Regions from separate parts of the Homo sapiens genome. Here region 2 is linked to region 1. Evidence: promoter capture Hi-C in 16 types of primary human blood cells and fetal thymus (Javierre and others, 2016). All regions are on one chromosome and are shown on one strand. The core of a region is centred on a gene start or on the middle of the fragment in contact, and the rest is flanking DNA. Distances in the headings are between cores, read along the strand shown.

The links. Contacts are between HindIII fragments. The CHiCAGO score rates a contact against its expected background, and 5 or more counts as called.
Region 2: a contact is called between a fragment that was not itself captured here and the fragment with the promoter of FBXO11 in region 1, in 17 of 17 cell types (total CD4 T cells, activated CD4 T cells, total CD8 T cells and 14 more). The highest score is 40.1, in total CD4 T cells.

The regions. Positions count from the first base shown.
Region 1 is chr2:47,905,248-47,912,184 of GRCh38, reverse strand. FBXO11 (F-box protein 11) reads left to right here and starts at 5,687. Exons shown (of 23, transcript NM_001190274.2): 1 at 5,687-6,696. The coding sequence starts at 6,465. It overlaps LOC100506235 (a long non-coding RNA gene), which reads right to left and starts at 6,635. Exons shown (of 2, transcript NR_187636.1): 1 at 6,386-6,635; 2 at 4,018-4,867. RefSeq lists an enhancer at 4,741-5,525 and silencers at 5,595-5,694, 6,185-6,374, 6,735-6,854, 6,865-6,914. The HindIII fragment of the contact is 3,894 bases long and covers 4,582-6,937 here.
Region 2 is chr2:48,416,008-48,423,233 of GRCh38, reverse strand. No RefSeq gene overlaps it. Among named protein-coding and RNA genes, the nearest start is that of PPP1R21, 21 kb to the left of the region's middle. The HindIII fragment of the contact is 1,891 bases long and covers 3,325-5,215 here.

The DNA.
Region 1 (6,937 bases), core at 4,438-6,937:
ATATTGTGAAAATGGCCATACTGCCCAAGGTAATTTACAGATTCAATGCCATCCCCATCAAGCTACCAATGACTTTCTTCACAGAATTGGAAAAAACTACTTTAAAGTTCATATGGAACCAAAAAAGAGCCCACATTGCCAAGACAATCCTAAGCCAAAAGAACAAAGCTGGAGGCATCATGCTACCTGACTTCAAACTATACTACAAGGCTACAGTAACCAAAACAGCATGGTACTGGTACCAAAACAGAGATATAGAGCAATGGAACAGAACAGAGCCCTCAGAAATAATACCACACATCTACAACCATCTGATCTTTGACAAACCTGACTAAAACAAGAAATGGGGAAAGGATTCCCTATTTAATAAATGGTGCTGGGAAAACTGGCTAGCCATATGTAGAAAGCTGAAACTGGATCCCTTCCTAACACCTTATGCAAAAATTAATTCAAGATGGATTAAAGACTTAAATGTTAGACCTAACACCACAAAAACCCTAGAAGAAAACCTAAGCAATACCATTCAGGACATAGGCATGGGCAAGGACTTCATGACTAAAACACCAAAAGCAATGGCAACAAGAGCCAACATTGACAAATGGGATCTAATTAAACTAAAGAGCTTCTGCCCAGCAAAAGAAACTACCATCAGAGTGAACAGGCAACCTACAGAATGGGAGAAAATTTTTGCAATCTACCCATCTGACAAAGGGCTAATATCCAGAATCTACAAAGAACTTAAACAAATTTACAAGAAAAAATCAAACAACGCCATCAAAAAGTGGGCAAAGGATATGAACAGACACTTCTCAAAAGAAGACATTTATGCAGCCAACAGACACATGAAAAAATGCTCATCATCACTGGCCATCAGAGAAATGCAAATCAAAACCACAATGAGATACCATCTCACACCAGTTAGAATGGCGATCATTAAAAAGTCAGGAAACAACAGGTGCTGGAAAGCATGTGGAGAAATAGGAACACTTTTACACCGTTAGTGGGAGTGTAAACTAGTTCAACCATTGTGGAAGACAGTGTGACGATTCCTCAAGGATCTAGAACCAGAAATACCATTTGACCCAGCCATCCCATTACTGGGTATATACCCAAAGGATTATAAATCATGCTGCTATAAAGACACAAGCACACATATGTTTATTGCGGCACTATTCACAATAGCAAAGACTTGGAACCAACCCAAATGCCCACCAATGATAGACTGGATTAAGAAAATGTGGCACATATACACCATGGAATACTATGCAGCCATAAAAAAGGATGAGTTCATGTCCTTTGTAGGGACATGGATGAAGCTGGAAACCATCATTCTCAGCAAACTATTGCAAGGAAAGAAAACCAAACACTGCATGTTCTCACTCATAGGTGGCAATTGAACAATGAGAATGCTTGGACACAGGAAGGGGAACATCACACACACTGGGGCCTGTCGTGGGATCGGGGGAAGGGGGGAGGGACAACATTAGGAGATATACCTAATGTAAATGACGAGTTAATGGGTGCAGCACACCAACACGGCACATGTATACATATGTAACAAACCTGCACATTGTGCACATGTACCCTAGAACTTAAAGTATAATAATAATAATAAAAAGAAATTGGTTCTGCTCTTAAAAAACAAAGATTTACCACTGTGTATCACAGTCCAGCCTAAAACTTGAACAAAATTGATTTCTTTTAATAGCGTTCTGTATTACTTCACAGGGAAAGGTATTAAAGTCAGATTCTATAATTCTTTAAAGATAACTTCTGGGTATCATTGGATTGTGTGCTTACCAGGTTTTCCCACATATACGTTAAATTTAAATCCTTAGTTCCGAGTTAATTTTCACTACCTAACTGATAAAAAATTATCTGGGCATGTACTGAAGAATGAATTTTTGCAGCTTAGTGAGATAAGTCATTCATACTTTAACAAGAATATTTTAAACAGAGCTGGTTATTCCTGCAGGGAAACCATATTCAGATCAAACTAATTTCTTAAATGACATAAAAGGAGTGAGCAGCTTTGAGGTGTCTTATGTAACTAAGTGCTGACGGCTTGGGACTAGATGATAGAATGACAGAGGAAAGGGAAGCTGAATCTTTGAAATGGTAAAATTATAATTTAAGAATCACAGTAAATATCACCTGCCAGGTATTAAAATGATTAAAGAGCTTATTTTTTCCACACTGCTATTGTGATAGGTTTTATAAACAAATAATTTTAAGTACACTAACCTTTTAAGCACCAGTAATTAGCTGAGAAAAACAAACACAAATGTTCTTGAAGAGAGAGCAAACCCTGAGGGAATTCAGTCCTCTGAAATTATGCTAAGTATTACTGAAATAATTCTAGGTGGCTCCCACCCCTAAAAGAAATCCTTTTAAATTTTTCTCCTGTTTTCTAACATATATAACTTTTATGACAGCTAATTGACAGAATTATTTACTAATATAGGTGGATCTGCCTATGGATAAAACCTTCCAGGATATTTTGGGTTCTCACCAGAACTCAAAATACTGTCTACAATGCTTCTGAATGGAAAGGGCCCTGGATTGGCAGACAGTGGCTTTGCTACCAAATAGTTATAGTTTTGTCACCTCCCTTCTTTGGAGTTTAGTTTCCTAGTCTGTTGAATACAGAAATGAGATTTAATGATCTCCAAGGTCCGTCCTGACAACTCTTAAGTTCCACAATTGAGTTTGAACACTTTTACACAAAGATGACTTCAACATTTAATCCCTGAAATAAACTAAACATATGTAGAAACCAGTAATGTAGGGATAGGATAATATTTTTTAATATCTCCCAATAGGTGTTCCATTATTGTTAAACTGGGTTCTCTCTTGAGCACTTCATCAGCTATCACGGCTCCAAGAAAGGGAGCAGAAGAAATGCCAAATCTCAAAAATGAAGAGGATACGGTACAGAAGGAAAGTTCCTGACAAATGGGAAGGAGAAAAATCCATTCCTTAAAAACCCTGGGGCATGATGGAAAGAAGAAAAGGGTACAAGGAAGAGGTTAATCAGACTCAGTGTGCTTACTTTCCATCCCCTCTCAGGGTGGAAACTAGAATTGAGGGTATGTAGTTGACATATGCACAGAGACATAGGGAAATCCAAGAAAGTTGGAGATAGTGGTTTGCGTCCCTGGACATGTCTGTGAAACACTAAGACGTCTAGGAGTTCTACTTTCAGCCTGCCAGCATGTTCAATATGACATAAGGAGAAAAATGCAACATTGTTGGATAGTGGCTCAACAACTAGTAAGCCCAAAGCAAGGCTCCTGGCTCATCAAGGCCTACACGTGGTATTCGGGGAATCCAGAAGTACCCATGTGTCTCAGTGAGAACCATGAGGATCAAGGGACCTGTGGAGACTCGGGGTCAGTACAAAGAGGTTATAGTGTATGGGGCAAATGGCTCATGTATGGATTTCAGCAAAAGAAATCAGCCTCAAAAGTACAGAAATGACCAGTTTTATGAGTAATAAATGATAAACGACAGTGGCTGCCATCAGACAATACTAGCCACTCCACGCCAGAAGACAACATAAGGACTGGCATTAGTGGCTTAGATGCCCTTGTAAACCTCCCTATTCCTCAGGGATGCTACCACCCTACCAGTTACTCTGTGAATTTGAAAAAGGTGCTTCCTTTCTCAAGACACTTTACTACCATCTATCAGGAAATTGTCATAATATACTAATTTTGCTAAAACAAGGCATTTTACTGCCATATGTCAGAGAATTGTTGCAATAAACTTAGAAATCTAGGGTATGTAAAAGATACCCCTTATACCACATATAACAACCCTAAACCCCGCCCCTCCCATTAATATATTAGAAGGAGAGTTGGGGAAATAAAAGGTGAAAGCAGTTATGTTTTTTAAAAAATTGAGATGATGTGGGGACTTGAAGTTAAAATTACAGAAAATAAACAAGCTACATTTTCTTTACATCTGAATTAATGTAAGTAAAACTTCCACTCTGCCACACCAAAATACAAACTCTTTATGCCCAATATTTTCCTTTTATTAGTATTTCCCATAACACCTTATATACATATTAATGCATACACGGAAGGAGCCAAAAAGTACTTGTCAAATAAAAAAGTAAATTTTTAGAAAAATCAGAAATGATGGACACACTTATATGTATAACGTAATTTTCCTGTACTTTTACTTTTCCCCTATGTTTATTTGAACAAACCTAAAATTGTACCCATTTGCACCTAGCTAACCACCATAAAAATTTGGAGTTCTCCAGCTGTTTTGTAACAGCTGTCCTCCTCAAATATTTTTTTGAGAAACAAACATAGACCTACGTTTCTCTATTTTTCTGGACTAAAGAGAGATCATCTCAAAATCACAGAACTCTTAAAAATTGAAAACAGGATCATGTAGTCTAAAATAAGTTCTTATTTAAACTTGGGAGGTGAGGGGGGCGGGGCTGACATCTAGAAAGGTGAAGTACTTTGCCTGTAGTCACACACCAAGTCTGGGACTCAACACACAGGCTCGCCTCTTTGCGTCTCTCCCTCCTTCCAAAATACATTTTCCTCCCTCTCAAAAGCTTTATCACGCTTTGTAGTTGCTTAATTATCTATGTCAAACCTAGAGAGCAACTGATGACACTCAGAGACATCGCCCAAAGTTCTGAAAACCAGATAATCAGATAAACTGCCAGTTTTACCACATCCAAAAAATGCACAACAAAAGAGAGAAGGGGGAGAATCGAGAATACATTTTCAGCCGCAAGGCAATAAAAACACGTTTCCCTTGGAGAGAGATTATGTTGGGGGCATCAGGTATAAAGGTAATTCCTGTTGAGGGTTTTTCTTTTCCTTGCAGTTTGTGGGACCTAAAAAAAAAAAATTAAAAATTAAATCACATAAACAATCACAACATCAACACATTTACTTCTCTCCTCTCACATATTATTTTCCCACACATTGTATACACTTCTTCAAAGAACAAATCAAATTGGCCAAAGGTCAAAGCCTTTTCAAGGTTTAGATGATATACGATTAGGCACCGACTCCAAACTTCGCTTACCAAGCCCAAAGCTCGGAGACGGAAATCTTCAGGGTTTGCAAATACCCTCAGCTTGGCTAAAGGGCACGAAATCTCTAGCGCTCCCTACAGCTCAGATTTTGAACCCACCTACCACAGAAAACCCGAGTTACCAAAGATTGGCTCCCTCGTTCCACTTTTTTTTCAGCTCAAAAAAATCGGGTGAAGGTTGGGGTAGGGGGGAAGCTGAAACGGCGAACCGAAGGATTAATCACTTCTCCCCATTACATCAGCAACCCCCGCCCTTTCCTCCGAGCACCTCCTCTCCCAGAATCGTCGCTACGCACTGGCGCTCTCTTCGCCCACCCCCTGCTCTATTATTTGCCCTGATACCTCCCCATTATCACCCGCCCCGCCACACTCCCCCTTTCCTCTTTCCCCCTCCTAGGCGGGGGAGGGAGGAAACCCGAGAGAGGAAACAGGGCGTTGAAGGGACTTCGCGATAAGAGCGGAGGCCCCATTGGCCGGAAGGTTGTACGGGCGCCTTAGATTGGCCGCCTGGACGGAATCCCCGCCCCTCCTTTCCCCGCCCACCCACCCCTCCCCCCGCCGCCCCGCGGCCCTCCCCCGCGCCCCCGGCCAGCCCCGCGGCGGGGAGGGACCGACTGGGCGAGTGGAGGCTCCGGCGGTGTCAATGGCTCCTCCTGCCACGGAGCAGCAGCAGAAGCAGCGGCGACAGGGCTGACGAGGAGGAGGAGGAAAGGTTCCTTTAAGGAGGAGGAAGGACGACGCCTCTTTTTCCCCCTATCTCCTCCCTTCACACTCATTTCCCCTTCGCCGAGGAGAGAAGGGGGGGAGGAGAGAGAAGAGACCGAAGAAAGAGAGAAAAATTCCTCACAGAAATCTCTTTCAGGGGGTGTGGGGGGGAGGAAGAGGGAAAAAAAAGAGCCGGGCGCCCCCTGCTCCCTCCCTCCCTTCTCTCCCTCTCTTTTTCTCCCTTCCTCACCCGCCCGCCCACTCCCCCCGCTGCCGGAGACGCCGCTCGCGAGTCGGCGGGACCGGGATCTGTCTCTTCAGCCGCCGCCGCCGCCGCCGCCGCGCTTCGCCTCGGGATCCCCAAGCGGCGGACGCCCTTTCTTTCTTTCTCTCGGTCTGCCCGTCTTTCTGCCTTCGTCCCTCGCGGCCGCCCCGCCCGGCGGCTTCGGCCTTCCCCGTGCGTCAGGCCCTCCCGGCCGGCCTCGCTCGGTCTCCGTCTGTCTACCCGGGCCTTTCTCCGGACTCGGGGTCCCGCTCGCCCCCTCCGCCCTCAGCGTCTCCCCTTCCCCTCGCCCCCTCTCCTTCCTCCCCCCTCTCCCACTCTCCCCACCCCTTTCTCCTGCCCCGAAGCTCGCTGTGCGTGTGCGTGTGTGTGTCCCTCCGCCAACGCCGCCACCTCAGCCCGGCAAATGAACTCCGTCCGAGCCGCCAACCGGAGACCCAGGCGAGTGTCGCGGCCGCGCCCGGTGCAGCAACAGCAGCAGCAGCCCCCGCAGCAGCCGCCGCCGCAGCCGCCCCAGCAGCAGCCGCCCCAGCAGCAGCCTCCGCCGCCGCCGCAGCAGCAGCAGCAGCAGCAGCCTCCGCCGCCGCCACCGCCGCCTCCGCCGCTGCCTCAGGAGCGGAACAACGTCGGCGAGCGGGGTAAGGCCGCGCTACCTCCCAACCGCCCGCCTTCCCGGGCACCGCGGGAAGGGAGGCCGGGGCGGGCGGGCGGGCGGGCGGGCGGGGGCGGCCTGCGCGCCCTGGGGGTGGGAGACCCAAGCTGAGCGGAGGCGGGTCCCCCGGTGCCGCAGTGTCAGCCCGGGCCGGGCCCGGCCGGCAGGAAAAGCCGCGGCTTCCCTTCTCGCCTGGGCTCTCGCTCAGGCCGCGCTTTGTTTGGTTT
Region 2 (7,226 bases), core at 3,021-5,520, 510 kb before region 1:
GCTACTTGGGAGGCTAAGGTAGGAGGTTGGCTTGAGCTGAGGAGTTTAAACCTGCCAGTAAGCTGTGATTGTACCACTGCATTCCAGCCTGGGTGACGGAGTGAGATCATGTCTCCAAAAAAAAAAAAAAAAACAACAACAAACAAAATCTAGAAATCAGAGCAGGGACCAGGTAAGTGATACCACAAGGAAGCTGACGGGTATGTGCAGAATATTGAACTATTGGACAACTGAACAAAAAGGGAGACCAAGAAGTGCTTTAGATGAGACAAGTTTTTCCTCATAAAGCTAAACATAAGTGTACACTCTGAAAACATATGTCCATAAAAAGATTTATGCAAAAATATTTATAGCAGCTTTATTCATAATAGCCTAAATTGGAAACAATCTAGATGCTCAGTAAGAGGAGAGTGCATAAACAAATTGTAGTAAATGCGAGCAATGGAATGCAACTCAGTAAAGACACAGATGAACCTCAAGAATATCATGCTGAGCACAAACAGCCATACTCAAAAAGACTACACACTGCAAGCGTGCATTTTATATAAAATTCTAGAACAGGCAAAACTTATCCATGGTGAAAGAAATCAGATAAGCGGTTTGGGGGTGAGGACACAGTTCGCTGCCAAAGCACAGGTGGTAACTTTCTGAGGTGATGGGAATGTTCACTATCTTGATGAGGGTGTGGGTTACCAGGTGTGAGCATTTGTCAACACTCATTAAATTGTATGCTTAATACCTGTGCGTTTCACTATATGTAAGGATAAGTCAGTTAGGGAGGAAGGGGAGGACAAGGAATGGGAGGTGGAGAGAGAGAGAAGGGGAGGGAGGGAGAGAGAGGAGAAAGAGAGAGATAGAGAGACCTAACAACCAGACAACTGCAATAAGTTTTCAAGAAAGCCTAAATGTAGACTGTTTGTATGGTCATTTAGATCAGGGGTGTCCAATCTTTTGGCTTCCCTGGGCCACAGTGGAAGAAGAATTCTTTTACTACACATAAAATACACTAATACTAACGATAGCTGATGAGCTGATAAAGGAAAAATCACACCAAAAAATCTCATGATGTTTTAAGAAAGCTTACGAATTTGCGTTGTGCTGCATTCAAAGCCGTCCTGGGCTGCATGTGGCTCGCAGGCCACGGGTTGAACGAGCTTGATTTAGATGACTCCAAGGAATTATAAAATGTTCTTTTTTTTTTTTTTTTTTGAGACGGAGTCTTGCACTTTCGCCCAGGCTGGAGTGCAGTGGCCGGTCTCAGCTCACTGCAAGCTCCGCCTCCTTGGTCCTCGCCATTCTGCCTCAGCCTCCCAAGTAACTGGGACTACAGGCGCCCGCCACCACGCCCGGCTAATTTTTTGTATTTTTAGTAGAGGCGGGGTTTCACCGTGTTAGCCAGGATGGTCTCGATCTCTTGACCTCGTGATCCACCCCCGTCGGGCTCCCGAAGTGCTGGGATTACAGGCGTGAGCCACGGCGCCCAGCCTACATAATGTTTTTGATGAAATAAGGGCGTGTGGCTATGTAAGAACATGCCAGCCGGGTGCGGTGGTTCACGCCTGTAATCCCAGCGCTTTGGGAGGCCGAGGTGAGCAGATCACTTGAGGTCAGGAGCTCAAGACCAGCCTGGCCAACATGGAGAAATTCTGTCTCTACTAAAAATACAAAAATTAGCCGGGCATGCACCTGTAGTCCCAGCTACTTAGAAGACTGAGGCGGGAGAATCGCTTGAACCTGGGAGGCGGAGGTTGCAGTGAGTCGAAATCGCGCCACTGCACTGCAGCCTGGGGGACAAGAGTGAAACTCCATCTCAAAATAAAATAAAATAAAATAAAATCGGATACATAAAGCAAGAGTGACAAAAACTTGATATTCCAGAACTTGGGTGGTAGGTATGTGGGGATTTATAGTTCTTTTCACTGTTTTGTGTATATTTGAAAAATTTCAAAATAAAAAGAGAGGCTGCCTTAGGTAAACAAAGACAGTATATAATACCCACAGTGTCAAAGCAGAAAGTATATGGACGCTCTCAAAAGTTATTTCTCTTATCAGACCAACTCTCCCTGCTTTCTTCCTGCCTTGGCTGATGATTTACCTTTTATTAAAATTCTCACATTCCAATACCTTGATTACTAATGGTTATATTAATCACTTTTATTTCATATTTCAATCAACAGATCAACATTTATTATTAGCCATGAATATGTGCCGCTGAGAACGTCCGGAAACCTCCTCCTCCTCCCGTTCTCCGTTCCACCCAGAGGAGTCGCTCCCCAGAACGGTCCTTTCTGCCTGGTAGAACCTCGTATCACCACCAGGGGGCGTGCCATCACTGAATTTGCTCCGCGGCTGCTTCAGGAAAGATAAAATCAGCCCCGCAGTCTGAGTAACTGGTTACCAGGGTTTCGGCGCACCCAGGACCGGTGTTTGTCATTGTTTAGGCACGTCTCTGGTGACTTCATTCCACTATACCCAAGTCTTTTTGGGGAAACAATTACCCTATTTGAACAGAACAAGTAAGGCAAATTGGTAACTGGAAGATGACTAGGTGCTTCTACAGGATGTGTTGGGACATCCTGTCTTCCCCTGGGGCTTAGCTTTGGGTGTGGACCCTTCCTTCTCACTTGATGGTTGGGAAAGGATACCCCCCTCTCTGCAGGGGCACAGCCCCTTCTTTGTCCTGGATAGGCCTGGCTAGCAGAGCAGGAGTGAGCTGGCCCGTGTGGACAGGGGCGTCACTGGGGACAGACGAGGGGCCTCGACCTTCAGAAGCCTCTGTGGCAGGGAAGACCCCGAAGATGGCGGGACCGCTCTAAACTGCCAGGCGCTCTGCAGGCTCGGGCGCCCATTCTCTTGCACACCCCTGGGCCTCCCGTTCCCTCTGGCCATGCACTGAGTGCCTGCTGGGCTCCAGGCCACCTTCCTGCTCCGTGAGCCAGGGCTTTAGAGGACACAGGGCTTGAGCGGGAGGATGAGAGAGGGAGGGCTTCTCTCAATCGCAGATCTGATCCTGCCACTTCCCGCTCAAGAAAATCCTTTAGAGGGGGCAGCTTCGGATGGCTCCCTGTGGCCTCCAGTAAAAAGCAGAAGCCCTGTCATGGCCTAGGGGCCTGCACAATCAGCCCCTCCCTCCTCGGTGCCACTCTGCGCTGCCCGTGTTCACTGCCCTCCAGCCCGGGCGGCCTCTCGGTCCCCACTGCCCTGTGCTCACCGAGATGCTGTTGGCTCTGCCTGAAGAGTTCCTCTCCTGGACCCCTCCGTGCTCCCAGCCAAAGGCCTCCCCTCAGGCATTCTTCCTGCATCCTGAGCTTTTCCTTGGAAGCTTCTGCCACAACCATAACCCCATGCTTCCGACTCCCCCACTAGACTCTGAGCAACACAGAAACAACAGCATTTCCATAAAACCTTTTGAAAAACTGAAAATACTCTACGCATCCATCACGACCTCAAGCAGTGAACCAGGTAGCTGAGGCTTTGCTTTCCAAGAAGACTCCAAGGAAAGTGGCACAAAGAGAAAGAAAGTATTTGGGAATGAGAACCCTTCCTGAAGCCTTGGCATCACACCACGGTCAGCAGTCTTCTTTCCCTGTGTGTAAAGCTGACCCTAGCCAGGGATCAAGGGAGATCAGAGCTTATGAAAGGCAGGAGTAACGGCTGAGCAGAGAAGTGGCAGGAGCATGATAGTCATAACCAGACTGCTCAGAGCATAGAGTCCAGAAGCACCCCTTTTGCCTCCCTCTATGATATCTCCCAGTCCCTCCCTGCTCTAGGCCTTCCTAGCAGAGCTATCACCAAAGGGGGCCTCTGGAGGAGAAAAGGAATCAATGTGAAAAATTAAATTCTGGCTACTGTTCCTCTATACATTCATATGTTCATTTAATAGACCAATGGGGTGGTGCATGTGCCAGGCACTGGGATAGGTGCTGGAGATGGCTTTGAAGAGCTCAGACATAGCCAGCTGATGGGGGAGGCCATTAGTAAGAAAATCATTATGGTGCAACAGAAGCACTTTAGCAGCTTCATGTACAAAGAGGACTCCACTAACATAGAGGGACAAAAGCCTGGACCTTCTGGGGATGGAGAGGAGGAAGGCAGGAAGGTGCTAAGTTTAGGGAAGATATACAGAGCAGGTGGGCATTTGAAGATCAGGTTAGCCGGTCAGCCAATAAATGCTTACTGAGTGCCTTCTGGGTGCCAGGCACCCTTATAGGTGCTGGAATGCATCAGGGAAGAAAACAGGCCCTGCCCTCATGGAGGTGGTATTCTAGTGGGGTGGCGGGGAGGGATGCCGCGCATAAATATGAATAAAAAATAGAATAAGTAAGTGCATTCTATAGCGGGTTAGAATGCTGTGGGGAAAATAGAACAGTGTAAGGAGGTCAGGAGAGTTGGAGAGGGGTTTAGCATTTTTGGGGAGGTGGTCAGGTAAGCCTCAAGGAGAAGGTGACATTTGAGCAAGAACTTACCATAAGAGAAGGAATAAGCAGAGCCCAGGTATGGTTACCTGGGGGAAGTGATCCAGACATGGGGAGCAGCCAGGGCAAAAATCCCTGACGCTACAATGTGCTGGCATGTTTGAAGAGCAGCAAGGTCAGTGTGACTGGAGCAGAGGGCAAGGAAGGAGGAGAGAAGGTCAGATTGCAGAGGGCCTTGTGGGGAGTTTTAAAGACCTGGACTTTGACTCTGAGAGAAATGTACCATCATAGGAGCAGCGGTATGCTGGCCAACTAGGTCTCAGAAAAATAAAAATAAAAAGCCCTGGTTTGTAGCATTTGCCAATTTCTGTGGTAAATCTCCCACCTTGGCCTATTTCAAGCCATGAGTGTGGCATTCCTGACCACAGATAGGGGAGAGATGTGCAGGATTGGCCCTCACTAACTAATGCTTGCCATTCCAGCCCACCTCTGCTTTGGAGAATTCTGAGCAGAGATATGACATGATCTGACTGTGTTGCAAGGAGGTCACTCTGGCTGCTGTGTTGAGAGCATACAGGGGGCCAGGGAAGCAAGGGCAGAAGCAGGGAACATTTAGGAAGCTCTTGCAGTGATTCAGGTAAGAGAGGACATGTTCAGAGATTAGGTATTCACTACCAATATGGTGACTCAAAGGCAGATTCTAGGTGTTTTCTGAAGGCAGCATATAGAAGCCCACCTGGATGTCTTGGCAGACAGGATGTGGGTTATGAGAGGAGAGCAATTCAGGGTGGCTCTAAGCTTTGATAGAAGTTTTAGGGGGAATGGGAGGAAAGGCATTCTAGGCATAGGGTACAGCATGTGAAAAGCCACACACATAAGCATACATTCTATTTGGGGACAGAAATGAGGAGTGTGGCTGTTGAACCAGTTATGTGAGCAGAGGGAGCAGATAGGGCTGGTAAAGAGGGTCCTGTTCAGGTGTACCCCAGACAGGAGCCAGAACTTCCAGGCAGTTTTGAAGATATTCCTCCTCCAGGACCGGGAGGAAAATTCTTTTTTTTCTTTTTTTGAGATAGGGTCTTACTTTGCTGCCCAGACTGGAATGCAATGGCATGATCATGGCTCACTGCAGCCTCCACATCCTGGGCTCAAGTGATCCTCTTACCTCAGCCTTCTGAGTAGGTGGGATGACAGGCATGCACCACCATGTCTGGCTACTTTTTAATTTTTTTGTGGAGATGGGGTTTCGCCATATTTCCCAGGCTGGTCTTGAACTCCTGAGCTCAAGTGATCCACCTGCCTCGGCCTCCCAAAGTGCTGGGATTACAGGCATGAGCCACCGCACCTGGCCCCACAGAGTCTTTCTGCACAGCACTTGCAATTGTATTCCAGGTGGATCTTGAACTTCAAACCCCATCTATGCCACAGAATAGTTATTACTTACTCAGATGCAGTCTTGGGATGTTTTTCCTACTTAGATGTTTTGTTTTCCCAGTTAGCCTGGTAGTGTGTGTTCAGGGGCTGACCTAGCCAGGGCTGAACTCACAGAGGCTCTCAGGGATATTTATTGTATTCAGATGACCCAGGCTCCAAAAAAGCAAAGAATAGATATTCAATGTTCACGCTCAGGGTCTGAAGGGGGTATCCATCTGTCTCCACCAAAGATGGAATTCCTTTAAAAGGACCATAAGTGTGTGTGTGTGTGTGTGTGTGTGTGTGTGTGTGTGTGTGTGTCTTTGTAGGTATGTCTGTTTTTGAGGATTAAACATATTAATAACAACTCTCATTTATTAGATGCCTACTGGGCACCAAGAACTTGATATTCTTATTGAAGCCTCACAACAACAACAGTGCAGTGAGGAATGTAATTATGGAATCTCTGATTAACAAGCTGGTCATTAGAATGACATGTGACTCCCTGATTCATTTTATCTTTGGAGATATTTGATGATTCTTACAGCTTATTTATTTGCAAAATAAATTTTATGAATTTATCCCCCTTACAGTTTTTATGAGCTTGCAAGTGTCTGTAATTCAAACCCAACTATGCATGATAACTAAGATTAATTTAAAAAAATACAAATGCATGTCTGCTTTCAAATGTTTGTAATGAATGGTAATATTAATAGATGGATAGCTCTAAGCCAAATGATTTTACTAAAAGAAAATGCTCATTTGAATAACTGCTAGATCATGAAGAATAAATCTTGAGCTAAAAGCAAAATAATGATAATAATGTCAGTTACAAATGTGTATTCTATGTGCTTTGGTAATTTGTCCTAAACTTACCCTTAGGAACACAAGTCACAAAATGCTTCTGTTGCTATGTTGATGCTCAGGATTGTAGAGAGACTTGCTCTGTCCTTGACTCCCTTCATCTACCTCTTGCCACACAGAGAAAGTCACACAAGAAATACAGCTGTCTCCATCCTCCACGTGGCATGAGCTGGGGCCAGGGCTCTTTGCAGTTCAGGTGGAAATCCCCAGGAAACAGCCCTCATAGACCAACTCTAAGCCAGGGTCAAATGAAGATGAGTCCTTCAAAAACAGTTGCTATTCCACAGTGCTGCTTGTGTGTACTGAGGGGGTTGCGATTGCATTGCTGACTGACCCTCACTTCCTTTCTGGACCTGAGAGCATTTCACAACAACAAAGGGTTTTCTAAGATAAAGATTCCAAAAAGCTGGAAAAGAGCCTCTGGCAGTCATGGGGTCGGTCATCAGATGAGCACTTCACTCAAAGTGTCCTTAGAAATAGTGACACTTCTGTTGATGTTTGGTTTCTGTCACCCTGGCAACAACTATCTCTAAA